2 separate regions of the Homo sapiens genome follow, and region 2 is linked to region 1. Evidence: promoter capture Hi-C in 16 types of primary human blood cells and fetal thymus (Javierre and others, 2016). All regions are on one chromosome and are shown on one strand. Each heading gives the region's core, a stretch centred on a gene start or on the middle of the fragment in contact. The rest is flanking DNA. Distances are from core to core; before and after follow the strand shown. Region 1 holds the start of RETSAT (retinol saturase). Region 2 overlaps IMMT (inner membrane mitochondrial protein).

Region 1 (5,203 bases), core at 2,704-5,203:
CCAGAATACACCTCCACTCTCTTCTCTGATCAAGGTCAGTTCCACCTACTCAAGGCAACCTACCTTACTAGCTGGGGCTACAATGCTGTCTCACACCTCTAAGTCCAGTAACCCTTGTATGCAGCAAAAGTTCCTCTGCAAAAGGCCTGCATAAGGACCTTCTCTTATATTTCTTTTTTCATTTTTTTTTTTTTTTTTTTTGGAGACAGAGTCTCACTTGGTCACCCAGGCTGGAGTGCAATGGTGTGATCCCAGCTCACTGCAACCTCCGCCTCCTGGGTTCAAGCGATTCTCTTGCCTCAGCTTCCTGAGTAGCTGGGATTACAGGCATGCACCACCATGCCCAGATAATTTTGTATTTTTAGTAAAGACAGGGTTTCATCATGTTAGCCAGGCTGGTCTCCAACTCCCGACCTCAAGTGATCTGCCCACCTCAGCCTCCCAAAGTGTTGGGATTACAGGCGTGAGCCACTGCCTCCAGGCTCTTATATTTCTTTTATATGTTTCACAACCATTGGCACAGTACTAAGCACAAAATATATTTCTCAAATTTTTGTTGAAATTTTATCTCTAAAATATTTGGTGATTCATTGTGCTGAACAACTTCCTGCAGGCATCTGTGTACCTGAGATTCATTTCATCCTTCCTTTCCTTCTCCAATTCAGTCCCCTCCAGTGTCCAAAGACTTCCCTCTTTGGAACAGTTCGCATATTACTACAGTGAAGAAAATCTTTCTGGAGACCCAAAGCAAAGGCTTTGTCCCAGTCTGGCCACTGAATCCCACAGCCTCCATTTAAGACCATTTTTGGGTGGGCAAAGTAGTGTGAAAGGTAAGGCATGTAGGGTTAGCTGCCCGGCTCATACAAAGACATATCACATTGAACTGAGTCCTGAGGATGATCAGGCCAAAGCAAGCGTTTCACAGGGAAGAGGCTAGTAAGGTAATGATCCAAATCAATGAAATACAGATTTCTTGGGTGATTCCTCAATGAAATTCTCCCCACTACCCAAGCAAAAAGAAAACAAAAATCTCATAACTCACTTACAAAACAAGCTATTAGGAAAAGCAATTGACCCTGAGGTGAATAGAAGCTCCTTCTTACAGAACAAAGAGAACTATAATGAGGGTTTCTAAATTTTTCCAAATATTCTCTTAATATATTCTTACTATACTTAATGATATATCTCAAACCAACACCACCTTTCCCAAATAAGAGTGCATGCTTACCTGTCCATCTCTTAATTCTTCTTTACTATGGAAAGAGCAAGATTTTTCATTCATGACTCAAAATCATTTGTTCATGTGAGCTTTGTCCTTGGGCCCAGAAAGCATTTTAGTAAGGTCTGAGATCAGAAGCTATGTGGAGAGCCAGAGATCCAGTTGCTCTACCTTTGCCTTCCTTGGCAGTCACTCAGACTAAGAGTAAGAAAACAGTCCCTTTGTGCCATCCGAGGGTGTAGGAGGTTTCTGTGAGTGCTGAGAGAAGTCCTCTGAGGTCTTCGAAGCCTCAGCTCTGCACAAAAGAAAAAAAAGAAATTGAAAAAGAAAACTGGTTTCACCATTCAGTTATGCCTCTGTTGACAATTTTTTTTTTTTTTTGAGTTGGAGTCTTGCCCTGTTGCCCAGGCTGGAGTGCAGCCGTGCGATCTCGGCTCACTGCAACCTCCGCCTCCCGGGTTCAAGCGATTCTCCTGTCCCAGTCTCCCGAGTAGCTGGAATTACAGGCGTGCGCCACCACACCCTGCTAATTTTTGTATTTTTAGTAGAGATGGGGTTTCACTATGTTGGTTAGGCTGGTCTTGAACTCCTGACCTCGTGATCCGCCTGCCTCGGCCTTCCAAAGTGCTGGGATTACAGGCATGAGCCAACACGCTCGGCCTGTTGACAAAATTTAAGCAGCTGTGAATTTATTCTGAATGAACAACTTGCCTCAGCCAAATGCTTACCTCTTACTACCCAAGCCACAGGATGGCCAAAAGGGGACCACACAGGGGACTGTGAGCTGGATTCTGTGTCCAAAAGGCAGCAGCACCACTAGAAGGGATGGGGTCTGTTTCTGACAATGGAGTTACTGGGACCTGGGCCAGCTTATCAAAGGCGTGAGGCTAAAGGTGTCACCTTGGTGGGTGGTCTTAGCTGAAGTGCTCAGGCTTTGTTTAGGCCTCACACACAGGCTGGGTCAGGGGCTTATAATACTAGACCTGGTTCCAACAATGGTAGAAATTCAAAATGCAACACGATGTTCTAACCTTTCTCAGTTATCAGCAATACTGTGCATGTGGCAGCTGGCTAGCCAGTTTGGGCAATTCTAAGTCTTTCATCTGACATTGCTTCCCTCAGGAAAAGGGCTGGACAAGGCTCATACCTCATCACAGGGGAATTGGACATCCGGAATGTCTGTCACATCAAAAATTGCATCCTAAGTGGGCAGATGGCCCACACACAACTGACAATCATAGTTCACAACTTTGGGTGACTAAGGAAGGAGGGTAGCCTCTCTATGAGGTCAGCCCTCCAGGATGCCATAAAAACTGGCTGCTGGTGTCAGGATGCTTTGATTATTAACACTGAGAGGAAGAATACCTCCTGGCTCTTGGGCTTGACATGTGGCTCACTGTAATCCGGGGGACAGGGCAATGCCCCCTTAGTCCTGGCACCCCAGGAACTAAACTGCTCTCACTGTGGCCTCTGGGGCCTCAACATCTGCCTCCCCTTTCCTTTTCCTCCATCATGGCCTCCATGACAGCCTATGACAAAACACACATTGGCCAGCCTTGGCAAGGTGACAGGCGGGTATGGTAATAGCAATCTCAGGAGGGCTCTTCTGTTGCTGTGTAGAAAATGAACCAAGTAGCATAGAATCGTGACCAGCTTTCCACACCTGGCTGGAGCACTCCTGGGGCCTTCAGTAGGGACAGTTACTATCTGTAGCAGAGAAGAAAAGAGCAACAATTCCATTAAACAAGGAAGTACTCAAAGGCAAATTCCTGATAGTTGGACCTAAGGAAACGGCCTTCCTGTAAAAATGGATCCTTCTCCAATCAAGTATTCATTATGCACCCTCTTTAGGCAAGGAGGGGGTATGATTCTTCAACTGCTTGCTGGAGGTTAGATTCTCTGCATAGGAATTTAAATTAGATGGGCCCTTAGCTGATCCTTTCACCATGCTTGTCCATGGGCGGCTCCCCGTCCCCCAGGTTCCCCACGGATGGGGTGTCATTAGGGACCCGCCATAGAGGACTCCGTCCCAGGCGGGCCCCCAGGACAAAACTATGGGCCACTTTGAGGGGCACAGAGACAGACGCTCACCGGTTGTGATGCGCAGGTAACAGAGAGCTCAATTCATCATGACAACCAGTCAGACAGGGGCTGTGAGCAGCCTTTGGACAGAACTTTCGCATAGCCTGGAGGCGTAAGACGAGGAAAGCAATTTAACACCTCAAGGCAGCGAGTCCAGGGCAGAGCCAGGACCAGAACTCAGGACTCCTGTCTCCCAGTCGGGATTCTCTTTCAGTCTTACAACTCTCGGCCTTGTCTCGCCCCATAGTGATAATTTCCACCGGATCACATTCTCCCTCCCTCCTCAGGCCGGCTGCTAGCTCCGCACAGGCACCAACCACTCCCCTTGGCAAGTGTTAACGCGTTCTCACCGTTAAAAGAGCTTTCCAAACTTGGGGGTCCCGCCGCCTCGGCTAGGCCTCATCTGCTCATGCGCACAGCCGCTTCCGTGCCGGCTCCCCTGGCCCCGAGAACTACATTTCCCAGTAGGCAATGGAAACCCAAAAGAAGTACGGAGAGCCGGGAGGGTCAATCATCACCTGAGAGTTGGCTCTTCGCTGGCTGGCTGGTTAATCAGTGCTCAAAGCTGCCTCCGCCTCCTGACTGGAGAGCGAACTAGCCCGGGCGGAGCCACAGTCCTAGAGGCTGAGCGCAGTCGGAGCTGTCCCATTTACCCGACCCGACGCCGGCGTGATGTGGCTTCCGCTGGTGCTGCTCCTGGCTGTGCTGCTGCTGGCCGTCCTCTGCAAAGTTTACTTGGGACTATTCTCTGGCAGCTCCCCGAATCCTTTCTCCGAAGATGTCAAACGGCCCCCAGCGCCCCTGGTAACTGACAAGGAGGCCAGGAAGAAGGTTCTCAAACAAGGTAGCAGGAGGGACCCTGGGGTCCGGGGCTGCACTCGAGGCTTTCTCACAGATTTGGGTTCTCATTTTGCCAAGGCAGCCGCTACCAGACGTGGGCCTTAGTTTCCCCATATGTAAAGTACTAGGAGGGCTTCCTTGCACGTGGAGGAGCCCCGCTTTAGTGTGCAACACTGTCGATAGCCTTTGCCCTAGTAGGCCCCGGGAATAGTAGTCCCAAGGGTGTGGTCATTGTCCTTGGTTTGCAAGGTGTTGGCACCCGCCCTGCCACTTGTAATCCCCGTGGCTCGTGGAACTGATAATCCCCGTGACTCATTCCTCCACTTGGTTCCAGGACCTTAACTTTTTCACCTACCCTCCCATGCGAGCTCAGGGGTGTGGGGGAGCAGCACAGAAATGCGTAGGAAATTGCGTTTTGCCCGTCCGGTGATTTAACAGGCTTTGCATGGTCCCAAATCGTAAGGATTGAACCCTAGTTCTGAAACATTGGCAGAGGTTCAACAAGGCGCCTCAGGCTCAGAGCCTGCTCTCCACTCTCATCTTTAAAACATATTTTGTGGTTGCTTCTAGAGTTTAAAGAGTTCTGCTGCTTTAAAAAATAATGGATCACCTGTTTGATCTACGGAGTCCCTCTCACTTGTAAATTTTAGAATTCTCCGTGTCATATCTTGCTACACAATCGGAGACAGTACTGTTCTAAGTGGAAGGACTAATCATCTGGACTTCTGAGAACTGAGTTTTAGCTTGGACTCTGTCACTAATTTGCTGCATAACCATTAGCACCTACCTGGGCTGGTCTAAAAATGAGATGACTAGCTTAACTGCTTTTCAAACCGGATTGTGATCTATTAGTGGGCTATGAAATCAATTTAGTGAGTTGCAACTGGCATTATTTATTTATTTATTGAAACAGAGTCTCGCTCTATTGTCCATGCTAGAGTGCAGTGGCGCGATCTCCGCTCACCGCAACTTCCGCCTCCTGGGTTCAAGTGATTATCCTGCCTCAGCCTCCCGAGTAGTGGGCATGCCCAGCTAATTTTTGTATTTTTAGTAGAGACAGGG
Region 2 (5,203 bases), core at 1,595-4,094, 830 kb before region 1:
GACTGAGCCTGGCTGTGTCTCAGTAATTTAAACATAGAATTACCATATGACCTTGAAGTTCCCTGCCAAAAGAATAAAAAACAGGTGTTCAAACAAAAACTTTTAGATGAATATTCATAGCAACATTATTCACAATTCACAGCCAAAAGGTGAGGCAACCCAAATGTCCATTAACTGATGACTGGTTAAACAAAATATGGTATATTTACGTGATAAAATATTAGATTCAGCCATAAAAAGGAATGAAGTACAAGCTACATATGTGATACATGTTACAATGTGAATGAATCGTGAAAACATTACACTAAGTGAAAGAAGCTGGACAAAAAGATGTACATTGTGTGATTCCATTTATACAAAATATCTCAAACAGGCAGATTCATAGAAACAGAAAGTACATGGTGGTTGCCAGGGGCCAGAGAGAGAGGAAAATGGGGGATGACTGCTTAATGGATATAGGATTTCCTTTTAGGGTGATGAAAATGTTCTAAGATTAGATAGTGGTGATGGTTGTTGTACAACATCGTGGATGTACTAAATACCGTGGAATTGTACATTTTAAAATGGTTAGAATGGTGAATTTTATGTTAAGGGGATTTTGTCACATAGAGGAAAAAAAAAATACCTGCCACCAGGTATTTGCAGATGGCCGGAAGTATAGAGCCAGAGCTAGATACACACATACACACCCTAAACTTGCAGAGGCTTCCATTGGCCCAAGATAGGAAAATTTGAGCAAAAAGACAGTAATTACAAATGGTTGAAATCCATCAAAAGTGTTTAAATCCATGAATTTAAAAAGATCTGTTCTTATGAGTTACAGCTGCATAACAGGCCACCTTGAGCTTGGGGTAAAATAACAGTATTTATTGCCTTACTCAGTTCTGGAAAATTTTTGCTCAGAGACCCTCATGAAGTTGCAGTCAGATAGTTACTAGGTCTACAGTCATCCCCAAGTCTTCTTTACTCTCATGTGTGGCAGTAAATACTGGCTGCAGCTGACACCTCAGCAGGGACTGTTGGCTGGATCACCCATCTGTGGCATCTTTAAGTGTCTGGACTTCCATACACTTTGGTGGCTGGGTTCCAAGGGCAAGTGTGACAAGAGGCAGAGCTAGGTAGAAGCTGTATCCTTTTTATGTCTTAGTCTCAGGAGTTACAGAGCATCACTTTCACTGCCTTCTATTAGTGAATTAGTAACAAAGGCCTGCCCTTGTTTAAGGGAAGTGTACATAAAACTTATTATTGTTGGGAGAGGGGCACGTTTCTGGAACAGCATGTGGTATAGGAAGTATTGTTGCAGTCAATTTTGGATATTATCCTCAGCCTTCTGGACCCAACTGACATCCCTCCCACATGCACATCCCTCCCACTCACAACCTTCTCCAAGACTCTCCAGAGTCTAATGCCATCAAAGCATCAGCATTAGGAACAAGATCTTGTCATCTGAATCAGATCCTACTATGGATAAGACATCTTGAATGTGGTCCCTAGGGTATAGCTTCTTAAACACTTTTTTTGGTGATCTAAAGCCCTGTAAACTAAAGAGACAAATTATCTGCTCCCCATACATTCAGCATATGGTGGTATGACAGACACAGGATAATCACTCTAGACACTCCTATTCAAAAAGGCAGAAACTAAGAGGCACACAGCAGTCACCATTCCATAACAAGTGTAAAATTCAGCTGGCCCTATGTTTCTAATTCCTTGATGAGAGCTCAGTCCTACTGCTTGGGAATGATTCTCCTCAGCTCTTGGTTCTACCCTTTGGGCTCCTGGTTTTACACTTGAATTATTCTTCCGTTTCCAGAATATGTTGTCTGTTACAGCTGAATTGTTTCACAGCCTACTTCCTGTCTGTAGAAGTTTGTCTAGAAGCTTCTTTTCATTTTGTCCTCTTTTTCACTTTAAATATAAGCCAGCATGTTTTTTATTGACACAATTCTCAACAAGTTTGTGGGTTTCCTGTGAATCTTAATGGGATTTTCTTCATTAGATGCATGATACACATCTTATCAAGATAAGCCCTTCTCCATTTTGGGCTTCCTGTGAGGCTGCTGTAGGTAACACCTTTAATGTTCTGAGTAACCTTATTGATTCAATAGAATCTGGGAAACACATCCTTATGATTCTTAGAGGGCCTTTTCCTCAAGGTAAAAAGACTCTCTGAGGGGCACCTCCTTAGATCTTTTTGAGATCTCAAAGTATCTTTTGGTCACACACTAGATTTGATCTTTGGCTTGAAGCCCTTCTCTATTTGAGAATCTATTTGAAAACAATAAGCAGTTTTATTTTTGAACCCACCAAATCCTGACTCTTTTATATTTCCTTTAAATTTTGCTTGAAAGCAAAACAGGTTTTTGTTTTGTTTTTTAATGCTTATCTCTGTCCTTATCATACTCAGCTAAAAGAAACCAGTTAGCGCTTGTGATGAACACTATACTTGGAACTCTTTTGTTTTTTTTTTTTTAAGACAGAGTCTGGCTCTGTCACCCAGGCTGGCGCAATCTCGGCTCACTGCAAGCTCTGCCTCCCGGGTTCATGCTGCCTCAGCCTCCCGAGTAGCTGGGACTACAGGCGCACACTGCCACGCCCGGCTAATTTTCTGTATTTTTAGTAGAGACGGGGTTTCACCATGTTCAGCAGGATGGTCTCAATCTCCTGACCTTGTGATCCGCCCGCTTCGGCCTCCCAAAGTGCTGGGATTACAGGCGTAAGCCATCGCGCCTGGCCTACTTGGAACTCTTTAGCCAAGTACGTCAGTTCATTAGGTGTAGCTACAGCTATACTTAATTTTCTATTTTCCATGTCTGTCATTACAGATGACAGTTTTGATAAACTTCTGTCACTACATAACAAGAATATCTTTTCCTCCAGGTTCCAAAATTTTTTTTTTTTTTTGCTTTTCTTTAAGCCCTCACCAACAGGCTCTGGAAGGCCATTAGGCTTCTGCTCACAGTCTCTTCAAGGTTCTTCAGCTTCTGCCGCCCCCAACACCAGTCCCAAAGTCATGACCTCGTGTTTATGTTTTGTTGCAGTAGCACCCCTCTTCTAGGTATAAACATATGTTTGGTTATCTGTAGCTGTGTAACAGACCACCCTAAACTTAGTGGTATTAAATAGCAGTGTAATTATAATTATTATATTAACAATAACAAACGTATTAATATATAAATTATGTAAATAAAAATTACTCAGTGCTTTGAGAGGCCAAGGTAGGAGGATTGCTTGAGGCCATGAGTTCAAAACTAGCTTGGGTAACATAGCAGACCTGGCTCTATAAAAAACAAGAACAAAAATATTAGCTGGGTATGGTGGGCATGTGCCTGTAGTCCCAGCTACTCAGGGGGCTGAGGCTGGAGGATCACTTGAGCCCAGGAGTTAGAGGTTACAGTGAGCTATGATCATACCACTGCATTCCACAACCTTGGCAACAGAGCAAGACTCAGTCTCTTAAAAAAAAAATTATTTATATGCTTGAAACACTCTATTTCTGTATTTTCACCCCTCAGATTGTCAATGATGAAAAAAAAATGATACAATACAGTGTGTTGGAGAAAATGTGGGAAAACATACTTTCATATTACTAGAGGGCAGTTTGGCTAATTTGGCAGTATTAATCAACGTGGCAAATTTTACTTTTAAGAATAGACCCAAAATTGTGTATACAGTGTTACTCAGGTAGCATTATTTATTTTAACAAAAATTTAGAAAAAACCTCAGTGTCCCTCAATAGGGGCTGGTTAACAATTAAACATTAAGTAACAATGGAATACCAAATCATGAAATCCCTTGGGAAGCTTTTCACGTACTGATATACAGTGATTTAAAATATATATCCTTGAACTTTAATAGAGAATTGCGTGTATATTATGGTATCATTTGTGTAAAGGTGGGGAAAGTCAGGAGAATATGCACATTTGAATAAATATACATAAAATGTCTCTGGATAAATAAGAAACTGACAGTGTCAGTTGCCTATGGCAAGCATGGGGTGGCTGGGGAAAGAAGTATGAGGAAGATTTTACTCTATGCATATTTAAACTTTTAAAATTATTATTTAAAACCTCAGATTTTAAATTTATTTAGTATTAGGAGCTTTTAACTTATAGTCAAAACACATTCTGTCAAAGGGAGGATGGAGAGTCAAGATAAAAGAAAATAGAAGGTAGATAAAGAAACATTTAAAAATACTGATGCTGGGCGTGGTTGTTCATGCCTGTAATTCCAACACTTTGGGAGGCCGTGGCAGGAGAATAGGTTGAGACCAGGAGTTCGAGACCAGCCTGGTCAACATAGCAAGACCTGGTCTCTACAAACAACAAAAAAAATTATTTAAAGAAAAACTGATGTGACTTTGGGTAGTCTGAAACTCTAGTATTAAATTTGTCCCTGATTTCCTGGAGTCAGTTATCCATTGTGCTTGCTGCTTGATACTCCAGTTAGCTAATTATCCACTGTTGACAGTGCCTTAACTTTTTACCTGAATACCTATTTATACCTAGACAGATAAAAAATGCAACCTTAAATATAATACAACTTCAGTGGCCTCTTAATATTTTCTCCCTAAGTCACAAAAATGGAATTGTTGACATATAAAAATAGATGCATTTCTGTTTACAATTTCATACTACTTTACAGAATAGAAGGAAAACACCCTTTTCTATTAAAAATGGTTCAAAAATGTTGGGAATTCTACAGGGTAGGTAATAATTGAAATACTGGGTTTTTTTTGTTTGTTTGGTATTTTTTGTTTTTGTTTTTGTTTTTTTTTTTAAGGGGAGTGGAGGAGACAGGGTCTCATTCTATTGCCCAGGCTGGAGTGGAGTGACACAGTCTTGGCTCATTGCAACCTCCACCTCCGGGGCTCAAGCTCAAGTGATTCTCATGCCTCAGCCTCCCAAGTATCTGGGACTATAGGCACATGCCACCAAACCTGGCTAATTTTTGTATTTGTAGTAGAGATGGAGTTTTGCCATGTTGCCAAGGCTGGTTCTGACGTCCTGGGCTCAAGCAATCCCCGCCTGCGCCGCTCACCCTCGCCAGCCTCCCAAAGTGCTGGGATTACAGGCATGAGCCACCATGTCAATAATTGAAATACTTTTTAATACCAGTTGTATCTGCTTTACATATTTTAAAACATCTGATTTGTTTTTTTGTTTTTCAAAATGTATGACTGCATTAGTTAGCTGTTTACCTC

Evidence for each region. Contacts are between HindIII fragments. The CHiCAGO score rates a contact against its expected background, and 5 or more counts as called.
Region 2: a fragment that was not itself captured here is called in contact with the fragment with the promoter of RETSAT in region 1 in 1 of 17 cell types (monocytes); the score reaches 5.6 in monocytes.

What each region holds. Positions count from the first base shown.
Region 1 is chr2:85,353,278-85,358,480 of GRCh38, reverse strand. RETSAT (retinol saturase) reads left to right here and starts at 3,953. Exons shown (of 11, transcript NM_017750.4): 1 at 3,953-4,145. The coding sequence starts at 3,974. It overlaps ELMOD3 (ELMO domain containing 3), which reads right to left and starts at 3,712. Exons shown (of 14, transcript NM_001135022.2): 1 at 3,652-3,712; 2 at 3,311-3,405; 3 at 2,883-2,926; 4 at 1,229-1,514. The coding sequence starts at 1,282. RefSeq lists enhancers at 3,256-3,315, 2,950-3,449, 3,486-3,885, 3,450-3,951. The HindIII fragment of the contact is 19,367 bases long and covers 1-5,203 here.
Region 2 is chr2:86,182,440-86,187,642 of GRCh38, reverse strand. The region is part of intron 1 of IMMT (inner membrane mitochondrial protein); the gene reads left to right. Among named protein-coding and RNA genes, the nearest start is that of MIR4779, 8.1 kb to the left of the region's middle. The HindIII fragment of the contact is 1,922 bases long and covers 1,884-3,805 here.